Regions from separate parts of the Homo sapiens genome. Here region 2 is linked to region 1. The links are contacts of gene promoters, found by promoter capture Hi-C in human tissues and cell types (Jung and others, 2019). All regions are on one chromosome and are shown on one strand. The core of a region is centred on a gene start or on the middle of the fragment in contact, and the rest is flanking DNA. Distances in the headings are between cores, read along the strand shown. Region 1 holds the start of HSPA5 (heat shock protein family A (Hsp70) member 5). Region 2 overlaps SCAI (suppressor of cancer cell invasion).

The links. The method cuts DNA at HindIII sites, captures the fragments that hold promoters and counts their contacts. A contact is called where the count stands out against the background at its distance.
Region 2: a fragment that was not itself captured here is called in contact with the fragment with the promoter of HSPA5 in region 1 in 1 of the 25 tissues and cell types used here (spleen).

Annotation. Positions count from the first base shown.
Region 1 is chr9:125,238,805-125,244,378 of GRCh38, reverse strand. It overlaps HSPA5 (heat shock protein family A (Hsp70) member 5), which reads left to right and starts at 3,036. Exons shown (of 8, transcript NM_005347.5): 1 at 3,036-3,374; 2 at 3,472-3,703; 3 at 4,070-4,207; 4 at 4,846-4,958; 5 at 5,048-5,438; 6 at 5,552-5,574. The coding sequence starts at 3,253. It overlaps HSPA5-DT (HSPA5 divergent transcript), which reads right to left and starts at 2,723. Exons shown (of 3, transcript NR_186826.1): 1 at 2,316-2,723. RefSeq lists enhancers at 2,438-2,747, 2,397-2,901, 2,715-3,009, 2,902-3,406, 3,548-3,627. The HindIII fragment of the contact is 17,872 bases long and covers 1-5,574 here.
Region 2 is chr9:125,007,272-125,012,845 of GRCh38, reverse strand. All of the region lies in intron 9 of SCAI (suppressor of cancer cell invasion), which reads left to right. Among named protein-coding and RNA genes, the nearest start is that of GOLGA1, 69 kb to the right of the region's middle. The HindIII fragment of the contact is 6,592 bases long and covers 1-5,574 here.

The DNA of each region.
Region 1 (5,574 bases), core at 1,787-4,286:
TCAAATACTGGCTCATTATCTTAGGTGTGCAATCTCCTGGGCAAGTTTCTTTACCTCTTGGGGCTTCAGATTCCTTCACTCTAAAATAGGGGTAAGAAAAAAATGCTTTTTTGTTTGTTTCTTTTTGTTTTTGTTTTTGTTTTTGTTTTGAGACAGAGTCTCGTTCTGTGGCCAGGCTGGAGTGCAGTGGTGCGATCTCAGCTCACTGAACCTCCGCCTCCCAGGTTCAAGCGATTTTCCTGCCTCATCCTCTGAGTAGCAGTAGCTGGGACTATAGGCGCGCGCCACTACACCCAACTGATTTTTGTATTTTTAGTAGAGACTGGGCACCATGTTGGCCGGGATGGTCTCGATCTCTTGACCTCGTGATCCGCCCACCTCGGCCTCCCAAAATACTGGGATTACAAAAAACTGCTTTCTTAAAGATAAAAAGAGATAATGCACGTACGTCTTTAGCACAGTGTCTAACAGTTAAGTATTGATAACTTGACCTGGATATTATTTTTGGCATTTAATGTTCAGCAAGCTAGTTTTGACCATGTACTTTCCTATTCGTAAGTGACTGTGCTTTGGAATATACTAGAAAATGTATGTAAAATGTCTGGTTTTAAAAAGATGAAACCACAATATATTCAATTCCCTTTGGAAGTTAGCCATGTATCGCTTTTCTAAATTTTACAAAAAGGAGAGTTACAAAACGTTACTCTGTTAATCAAGGATAAGGCTGAAATGGAGAGTTTTTTTTTTTAATGGAAATGGACTGCACTATAAAAACATTTGATTGAAATGAAAGAAGCTGTAATGTGGTCAAATGATGATTTCTATCTTAATGCTGGACTGATGCAAGCCAAAGAAGGGTCAATGTTGCCGCAGGATTACAAGCCCTGCTGAAAGAGATGCATGATGCAACCTCTGTAGTGAACAGAGTCAACTCTTGAGTCACCAGTCTAACCTTTGAGAAGCACTAAGGAAAAAGAAAATTCTTGAGTACTGAGTCACAGGCTCAACATCTTAATAAAGTGTGTTTAGGATGTTTTAGTGGTATCTGGACACAGTATACCCATGAATCTCAAATATTTCATATCAGAGCTTTGCCCTTTCCATAGTAGGTCCTCCAAAAACATTCCTCAAACAAATGAATTTTTTTTTTTTTTTTGAGATGGAGTCTAGCTCTGCTGCCCAGGCTGGAGTGTAGTGACGTGATCTCGGCTCACTGCAACCTCCACCTCCCGGGTTCAAGCGATTCTCCTGCCTCAGCCTCCCGAGTAGCTGGGACTACAGGCATGCACCACCACGCCCAGCTAATTTTTGGATTTTTATAGAGATGGGGTTTCATCGTGTTACCCCGGATGGTCTTGATCTCCTGACCCCGTGATCCGCCCACCTCGGCCTCCCAAAGTGTTGGGATTACAGGCGTGAGCCACCACGCCCGGCCACAGATGAATTTTTTGTTTTAAAGTTAAGAGATCAGGCACAGTGTCTCACACCTGTAATCCCAGCACTTTGGGAGGCCGAGGTGGGCAGATCGCTTGAGGTTGGGAGTTCGAAACCAGCCTGGCTAAAATGGTGAAACCTCATCTCCACAAAAAAAAAAAAAAAAAAATTAGCCAGGCATGGTGGTGCGTGCCTGTAATCCCAGCTACTCAGGAGGCTGAGGCAGGAGAATCGCTTGAACCCCGGAAGCGGAGGTTGCAGTGAGCTGAGATTGCACTACTGAACTCCAGCCTGGGCGTGACAGAGTGATACTCCGTCTTGAAAAAAAAAAAAGTATTGGCAATAGAGTGAACTCCACCTGGTTATCAATCCTAACTCCATCACTCACCAGCTCTGTGACTTGTTTAGTTATTTAATCTTTTTCAGTTTCAATGTCCTCATCTGGAAAACGGGAAATGCCTACCGAGTATTGAACTGTCAAGACTAAATGACACATGAAAAGCACACTGAACAATGCTTAATCCACGGTAGGCTTTCAGCAAATAGTGGTCTCTATTATTTTTTGCAACAGGATGTTATATAAGAATAAGGCATTATCAAGACGATTTTCGCCTATCAAATGTGTTGTCTGCGTGTACATCAGACCTTTTCCTGGAATGAAGGTAGAAAAGTATCAACAATAAAGGATGGAGAAAGCCCCGTAAATGATAACCTTTGCCCCAGAGGGAAAGGATGGGCAGCGGAGGGGAAAGTAAAGGGTGGCAAGCTAGAAAAATTAGACATCCAGTGTGGGAGGGCTGGCACTGGAGTGGGTTGCCACAGTAGGGAGGGGACTCAGAGCTGGAGGCAATTCCTTTGGCCGGGCTTGTCCTGCGACTTACCGTGGGGCAGCGCAATGTGGAGAGGCCTGGTAAAATGGCTGGGCAAGGGTGCGGAGGGGACATAACTGGCAGGAAGGAGTCATGATTCGTGGTCGAACAGAGTCCAGACCAGCTCGACCTGTGAGCAACGAACGGCCCTGAGACTCGCATACCCCAATACCGGTAGTGGCCGTGAAGGGCAAAGAAATGTGTTCTGAGGCGATCCCAGCATCTAAGCTGCGACTGGTCTACTCAGAGACTGGATGGAAGCTGGGAAGAGAAAGCTGCTTCCCGCTTCGGGGTGAGGGATGGAGGAAGGGAGAACAAGCAGTAGAGAAGAAAAAGTTTCAGATCCCACAGCCCCGGGGGGTCACTCCTGCTGGACCTACTCCGACCCCCTAGGGCCGGGAGTGAAGGCGGGACTTGTGCGGTTACCAGCGGAAATGCCTCGGGGTCAGAAGTCGCAGGAGAGATAGACAGCTGCTGAACCAATGGGACCAGCGGATGGGGCGGATGTTATCTACCATTGGTGAACGTTAGAAACGAATAGCAGCCAATGAATCAGCTGGGGGGGGCGGAGCAGTGACGTTTATTGCGGAGGGGGCCGCTTCGAATCGGCGGCGGCCAGCTTGGTGGCCTGGGCCAATGAACGGCCTCCAACGAGCAGGGCCTTCACCAATCGGCGGCCTCCACGACGGGGCTGGGGGAGGGTATATAAGCCGAGTAGGCGACGGTGAGGTCGACGCCGGCCAAGACAGCACAGACAGATTGACCTATTGGGGTGTTTCGCGAGTGTGAGAGGGAAGCGCCGCGGCCTGTATTTCTAGACCTGCCCTTCGCCTGGTTCGTGGCGCCTTGTGACCCCGGGCCCCTGCCGCCTGCAAGTCGGAAATTGCGCTGTGCTCCTGTGCTACGGCCTGTGGCTGGACTGCCTGCTGCTGCCCAACTGGCTGGCAAGATGAAGCTCTCCCTGGTGGCCGCGATGCTGCTGCTGCTCAGCGCGGCGCGGGCCGAGGAGGAGGACAAGAAGGAGGACGTGGGCACGGTGGTCGGCATCGACCTGGGGACCACCTACTCCTGGTAAGTGGGGTTGCGGATGCAGGGGGACGGGGCGTGGCCGCCTGGCCTGGCGTGAGAAGTGCGGTGCTGATGTCCCTCTGTCGGGTTTTTCTGCCAGCGTCGGCGTGTTCAAGAACGGCCGCGTGGAGATCATCGCCAACGATCAGGGCAACCGCATCACGCCGTCCTATGTCGCCTTCACTCCTGAAGGGGAACGTCTGATTGGCGATGCCGCCAAGAACCAGCTCACCTCCAACCCCGAGAACACGGTCTTTGACGCCAAGCGGCTCATCGGCCGCACGTGGAATGACCCGTCTGTGCAGCAGGACATCAAGTTCTTGCCGTTCAAGGTTCGACCGGGTTTTTCTCATCCAGTTAGAGAACGGGTGGGTGGTGGGAGTATTTAGAGTTATAAGTCTCTGGAAAAGTGTTGAGACAACAGTTGAAGGTTATAGACATGATGTATGTAATAACTTTAATACTATTAGTATGTTACAAAACTTAAGACAGTTGCTGTCGTACTGTCTACGATAGTTTAGGAATAAAAGACCGATTAAAACTGAACTTTGTAAGACACCTATACTCCCTGAAGTATTTCTAGTCAATTTGCAGCCCCAAGGGACCAAAATAAACCAAATTGTGGGGATGGTAGTGGGTCTTTTAAACTTTGAGATGTCATTGTATCTGTGTCTGAAAACAATAATTCTTTAAAATAGGTGGTTGAAAAGAAAACTAAACCATACATTCAAGTTGATATTGGAGGTGGGCAAACAAAGACATTTGCTCCTGAAGAAATTTCTGCCATGGTTCTCACTAAAATGAAAGAAACCGCTGAGGCTTATTTGGGAAAGAAGGTAAATATTTCTAGAACAATGTTAAGTATTTTTTGATCATTAGTATTCTCGGTTGGCTGTTATGTATAGAAGCCTTCGTGAAGGGTTTCAAAAATTTTAATCAGAATGGTATTCATGCTTGTCAGGTTTAATTATTGAGTCCCTTACTATAAGCCAAACAAAATAGACTTTTCATGTATTATTTAATGCTTACAATTCCAGGGACATAAAATTTTATATGTTGTATTCATCAATAAGTTGGCTTAAAAACTAAAGTGATGGTTTGACTGTAATTTTTTTTTTTTGAGATGGAGTCTTGCTCTGTTGCCCAGGCTGGACTGCAGTGGCACGATCTCAGCTCACTGCAACCTCTGCCTCCCGGGTTCAAGCAGCTCTCCTGCCTCAGCCTCCCAAGTAACTGGAACTACAGGCACACCACCACACCTGGCTAATTTTTTTTTTTTTTTTTAATTTTCAGTAGAGACAGGGTTTCTCCACATTGCCCAGGCTGGTCTTGAAATCCTGCCCTCAGGTGATCCTCCTGCCTCAGCCTCCCAAAGTGCTGGGATTATAGGCAGAAGCCACCGCCTGGCCAGACTGTAATTTAAATAAGGGTTAAACTATGTGACAATACACTTAATTATCTTTTATCCTTTTAGGTTACCCATGCAGTTGTTACTGTACCAGCCTATTTTAATGATGCCCAACGCCAAGCAACCAAAGACGCTGGAACTATTGCTGGCCTAAATGTTATGAGGATCATCAACGAGCCGTAAGTATGAAATTCAGGGATACGGCATATTTGCCAAATAGTGGAAATGTGAAGTACTGACAAAACTTTTCCCTTTTTCAATCTAATAGTACGGCAGCTGCTATTGCTTATGGCCTGGATAAGAGGGAGGGGGAGAAGAACATCCTGGTGTTTGACCTGGGTGGCGGAACCTTCGATGTGTCTCTTCTCACCATTGACAATGGTGTCTTCGAAGTTGTGGCCACTAATGGAGATACTCATCTGGGTGGAGAAGACTTTGACCAGCGTGTCATGGAACACTTCATCAAACTGTACAAAAAGAAGACGGGCAAAGATGTCAGGAAAGACAATAGAGCTGTGCAGAAACTCCGGCGCGAGGTAGAAAAGGCCAAACGGGCCCTGTCTTCTCAGCATCAAGCAAGAATTGAAATTGAGTCCTTCTATGAAGGAGAAGACTTTTCTGAGACCCTGACTCGGGCCAAATTTGAAGAGCTCAACATGGTATGTTCCTTGTTTTCTGCTTTGCTAATGAGATCTCCTTAGACTCTGAATTCAGGACATTGCATCTAGATACTTAGATAACAGACATCACAGTAACCATGTCTTTTTTCTAGGATCTGTTCCGGTCTACTATGAA
Region 2 (5,574 bases), core at 2,016-4,515, 230 kb after region 1:
GCACTGTGGTCTGAGAGATAGTTTGTTATAATTTCTGATCTTTTACGTTTGCTGAGGAGAGCTTTACTTCCAACTATGTGGTCAATTTTGGAATAGGTGTGGTGTGGTGCTGAAAAAAATGTATATTCAGTTGATTTGGGGTGGAGAGTTCTGTAGATGTCTATTAGGTCTGCTTGGTGCAGAGCTGAGTTCAATTCCTGGGTATCCTTGTTAACTTTCTGTCTCGTTGATCTGTCTAATGTTGACAGTGGGGTGTTAAAGTCACCCATTATTATTGTGTGGGAGTCTAAGTCTCTTTGTAGGTCACTCAGGACTTGCTTTATGAATCTGGGTGCTCTTGTATTGGGTGCATATATATTTAGGCTAGTTAGCTCTTGTTGAATCGATCCCTTTACCATTATGTAATGGCCTTCTTTATCTCTTTTGATCTTTGTTGGTTTAAAGTCTGTTTTATCAGAGACTAGGATTGCAACCCCTGCCTTTTTTTGTTTTCCATTTGCTTGGTAGATCTTCCTCCATCCTTTTATTTTGAGCCTATGTGTGTCTCTGCACGTGAGATGGGTTTCCTGAATACAGCACACTGGTGGGTCTGGACTCTTTATCCAGTTTGCCAGTCTGTGTCTTTTAATTGGAGCATTTAGTCCATTTACATTTAAAGTTAATATTGTTATGTGTGAATTTGATCCTGTCATTATGATGTTAGCTGGTTATTTTGCTCGTTAGTTGATGCAGTTTCTTCCTAGCCTCGATGGTCTTTGCAATTTGGCATGATTTTGCAGTGGCTAGTACCGGTTGTTCCTTTCCATGTTTAGTGCTTCCTTCAGGAGCTCTTGTAGGGCAGGCCTGGTGATGACAAAATCTCTCAGCATTTGCTTGTCTGTGAAGTATTTTATTTCTCCTTCACTTATCAAGCTTAGTTTGGCTGGATATGAAATTCTGGGTTGAAAATTCTTTTCTTTAAGAATGTTGAATATTGGCCCCCACTCTCTTCTGGCTTGTAGAGTTTCTGCCAAGACATCCGCTGTTAGTCTGATGGGCTTCCCTTTGTGGTAACCCGACCTTTCTATCTGGCTGCCCTTAACATTTCTTCCTTCATTTCAACTTTGGTGAATCTGACAATTATGTGTCCTGGAGTTGCTCTTCTCGAGGAATATCTTTGTGGCATTCTCTGTATTTCCTGAATCTGAATGTTGGCCTGCCTTGCTAGATTGGGGAAGTTCTCCTGGATAATATCCGCAGAGTGTTTTCCAACTTGGTTCCATTCTCCCTGTCACTTTCAGGTACACCAATCAGACGTAGATTTGGTCTTTTCACATAGTCCCATATTTCTTGGAGGCTTTGTTTGTTTCTTTTTATTCTTTTTTCTCTAAACTTCCCTTCTCGCTTCATTTCATTCATTTCATCTTTCATCACTGATACCCTTTCTTCCAGTTGATCGCATTGGCTCCTGAGGCTTCTGCATTCTTCACGTAGTTCTTGAGCCTTGGCTTTCAGCTCCATCAGCTCCTTTAAGCACTTCTCTGTATTGGTTATCCTAGTTATACATTAGTCTAAATTTTTTTCAAAGTTTTCAACTTCTTTGCCTTTGGTTTGAATTTCCTCCTGTAGCTTGGAGTAGTTTGATCGTCTGAAGCCTTCTTCTCTCAACTCGTCAAAGTCATTCTCCGTCCAGCTTTGTTCCGTTGCTGGTGAGGAGCTGCATTCCTTTGGCGGAGGAGAGGCGCTCTGCTTTTTAGAGTTTCCAGTTTTTCTGCTCTGTTTTTTCCCCATCTTTGTGGTTTTATCTACTTTTGGTCTTTGATGATGGGGATGTACAGATGGGTTTTTGGTGTGGATGCTGTTTCTGTTTGTTAGTTTTCCTTCTAACAGACAGGACCCTCAGCTGCAGGTCTGTTGGAGTTTGCTAGAGGTCCACTCCAGACCCTGTTTGCCTGGGTACCAGCAGTGGTGGCTGCAGAACAGCGGATTTTCGTGAACCGTGAATGCTGCTGTCTGATGTTCCCCTGGAAGTTTTGTCTCAGAGGAGTACCTGGCCATGTGAGGTGTCAGTCTGCCCCTACTTGGGGGGTGCCTCCCAGTTAGGCTGCTCAGGGGTCGGGGTCAGGGACCCACTTGAGGAGGCAGTCTGCCCGTTCTCAGATCTCAAGCTGCGTGCTGGGAGAACCACTGCTGTCTTCAAAGCTGTCAGACAGGGACATTTAAGTCTGCAGAGGTTACTGCTGTCTTTTTCTTTGTCTGTGCCCTGCCCCCAGAGGTGGAGCCTACAGAGGCAGGCAGGTCTCCTTGAGCCGTGGTAGGCTCGACCCAGTTCGAGCTTTCTGGCTGCTTTGTTTACCTAAGCAAGCCTGGGCAATGGCGGGTACCCCTCCCCCAGCCTCGCTGCTGCCTTGCAGTTTGATCTCAGACTGCTGTGCTAGCAATCAGCGAGACTCCGTGGGTGTAGGACCCTCCAAGCCATGTGCGGGATATAATCTCCTGGTGCACCGTTTTTTAAGCCCGTCGGAAAAGCGCAGTATTGGGGTGGAAGTGACCCAATTTTCCAGGTGCCATCTGTCACTCCTTTCTTTGACTAGGAAAGGGAACTCCCTGACCCCTTGCGCTTCCCGAGTGAGGCAATGCCTTGCCCTGCTTCGGCTCGCGCACGGTGCGCTGCACCCACTGTCCTGCGCCCACTGCGTGCTCCCTAGTGAGATGAACCCGGTACCTCAGATGGAAATGCAGAAATCACCCGTCTTCTGCGTCGCTTACCCTGGGAGCTGTAGGCCGGAGCTGTTCCTATTCGGCCATCTTGGCTCCTCCAATTTTTTGTATTTTTAGTAGAGACAGGGTTTCACCGTGTTAACCAGAATGGTCTTGGTCTCCTGACCTCGTGATCTGCGCACCTTGGCCTCCCAAAGTGCTGGGATTACAGGCGTGCCTCCTCGCCTGGCCAACTGACTTTATTTTTATTTTTGAGACAGAGTCTCACTCTGTCCCTCAGGCTGGAGTACAGTGGTGTGATCTTGACTCACTGCCACCTCTGGCTCCTGGGTTCTAGTGATTTTCCTGCCTCAGCCTCCTGAGTAGCTGGCATTACAGGCATGTGCCATCACAGTGGCCCAGCTAATTTTTGTATTTTTAGTAGAGACAGGGTTTCGCCATGTTGGCCAGGCTGGTCTCAAACTCCTAGCCTCAGGTGATCTGCCCCCAGCTTGGCCTCCCAAAGTGTTGGGATTACGGGTGTGAGCCACTATGCTCTTTTTCCTCTTCTAGTATAAAAATCCCTGGGCTGGGCGTGGTGACTCATGCCTTTGGGCATGGTGGCTCATGCACTTTGGGAGGCAAAGTGGGGCAGATCGCCTGAGGGTCAGGAGTTCTAGACCAGCCTGGCCAACATGGCAAAATCTGATCTCTACTTAAAATACAAAAATTAGTCAGGCATGATGGCATGTGCCTATAATTCCAGCTACTTGGGAGGCTGAGGCAGGAGAATTGCTTGGACCCAGGAGGTGGAGGCTGCAGTGAGCCCAGATTGCACCGCTGCACTGCAGCCTGGGCAACAGAAGAAGACTCCGTCTCTAAATAAATAAATAAAATAAAAATCCAAAGCTGTAAAATTCTCTTTAAGCATTACTTTAATTTTATTCTACATATTTTGATATTTTGTATTTTTTCCAATCCTGCTTCTTCTATAATATTTTATATTTTATATTTTCTTTCAGTTGAATGTATTTTCTTATTTCTTTTTTAACTCTTACTGACAGTATATTGCACATCTCCAACTTGAGTTTGATAATTTTTTTTCAGCACTTTGAAGATTTAATTTCATTATCTTCTCTCATTTCTGTTGAGAAATTGTCTGTTAGATTTATTAGTCACATATTATATCCACTTAAGGAAATGTTTCTTTCCTCTGTGTGTTTTTAAGATTTTCTCACTTTCTTTGATTCTTTGCAGTTTTACTATGTTATATTCAGGTGCAGTTTTCTTTATTTATCCTGCTTGAGGTTCACAGAGTTTCTTGAATCTATGGGTTTATGTCTTTCATCTATTTTGAAATATGGTTATTATGTCTCTGAGTATTGTTTCCCTTCTGTTCTTTCTCTGCTCCACTTCTAGGACTCAGTTACATGTTTGTAGACCCGTTCACAGTGCCACGTGTGTCTGTTATATTCTTTTCTGTATTTTTCATCATTTTTTCCTCTCTAGGTTTAAGTTAGGCTGTTTTCTGTTGACTTCTTTTCCATTTCACTAACCATATCTTCTGATGTGTTTAATCTGCTATTTAACCTTTTATTAAGTTTCATATTTCACATATTGTCTTTCTTAGCTCTGGATTTTTCCATTTGATTCTTGTTTTATAGATTAAATTTTTTTTTCCTAGCCTGGGCAGCATGATGAAACCCCATTTCTACAAAAAATACAAATATCAGGCCAGGCAGTGGCTCATGCCTGTAATCCCATTACTTTGGGAGGCCTAGCTGGGTAGATCACTTGAGGTTAGGAGTCCGAGACCAGCCTGGCCAACATGGTGAAACCCTGTCTCTACTAAAAATAAGCCAGGCATGGTGGCTTATGCTTTTGATCCCAGCTACTTGGGAGACTGAGGCAGGAGGATCACTTGAACTCTGGAGGCAGAGGTTGCAATGAGACAAATTCGTGCCACTGCACTCCAGCCTGGGTGACAGAGTGAGACTCTGTCTCAAAAAGAAAAAAATAAAGGGCCGGGCACGGTGGCTCACGCCTGTAATCCCTGAACTTTGGGAGGCCGAGGCGGGCGGATCACAAGGTCGGGAGATCGAGACCATCCTGGCTAACACGGTGAAACCCCGTCTCTACTAAAAATACAAAAAATTAGCCGGGCATGGTGGCGGGCGCCTGTAGTCCCAGCTACTCCGGAGGCTGAGGCAGGAGAATGGCGTGAACCCGGGAGGTGGAGCTTACGGTGAGCAGAGATCAGACCACTGCACTCCAGCCTGGGCGACAGAGCGAGACTCCGTCTCAAAAAAAAAAAGAAAAAGAAAAAGAACTAAAAAACAAACCTTAGCTGGATGTTGGTCATGTGCCTCTAGTCCCAGCTGCTTGGGAGACTGGGGTGGAAGAATCACTTGAGCCCGGGAAGTCAAGGCTGCAGTGAGCCATGATTGTGCCACACACTTCAGCCTGGGTGACAGAAGCAGACCCTGTCTTAAAAAAAATTTTTTTTTTTTCTTTTTAGAGACAGTATCTGGCTCTGTCATGCAGGTGGGAGTGCAGTGGCACAGTCATGGCTCACTGTAGCCTTGACCTCCCAGGCTGAAGTGATCTTCCTGCCTCAGCCTTCCAAAAATGTTTATGTTTTATAGAGATGGGGTGTTGCTGTATTGCCAAGGCTGGTCTCAAACTCCTGGCCTCAAGCAGTCCTTCTGCCCTAGCCTCCCAAATGTTGGGATTATAGGCATGAACCACGGCACCTGGCCCTTTTTTATTTTTTAGTAGATTTTAATTCTCTGGCAGAATTCTCTATTTCTTCATTTGTGTTCTACCATGTCTATTTTGTTGATCACACTTAGTAGTTATTTTAAAGTCCTTTTCTGCTAACTATACTCTCTAGTT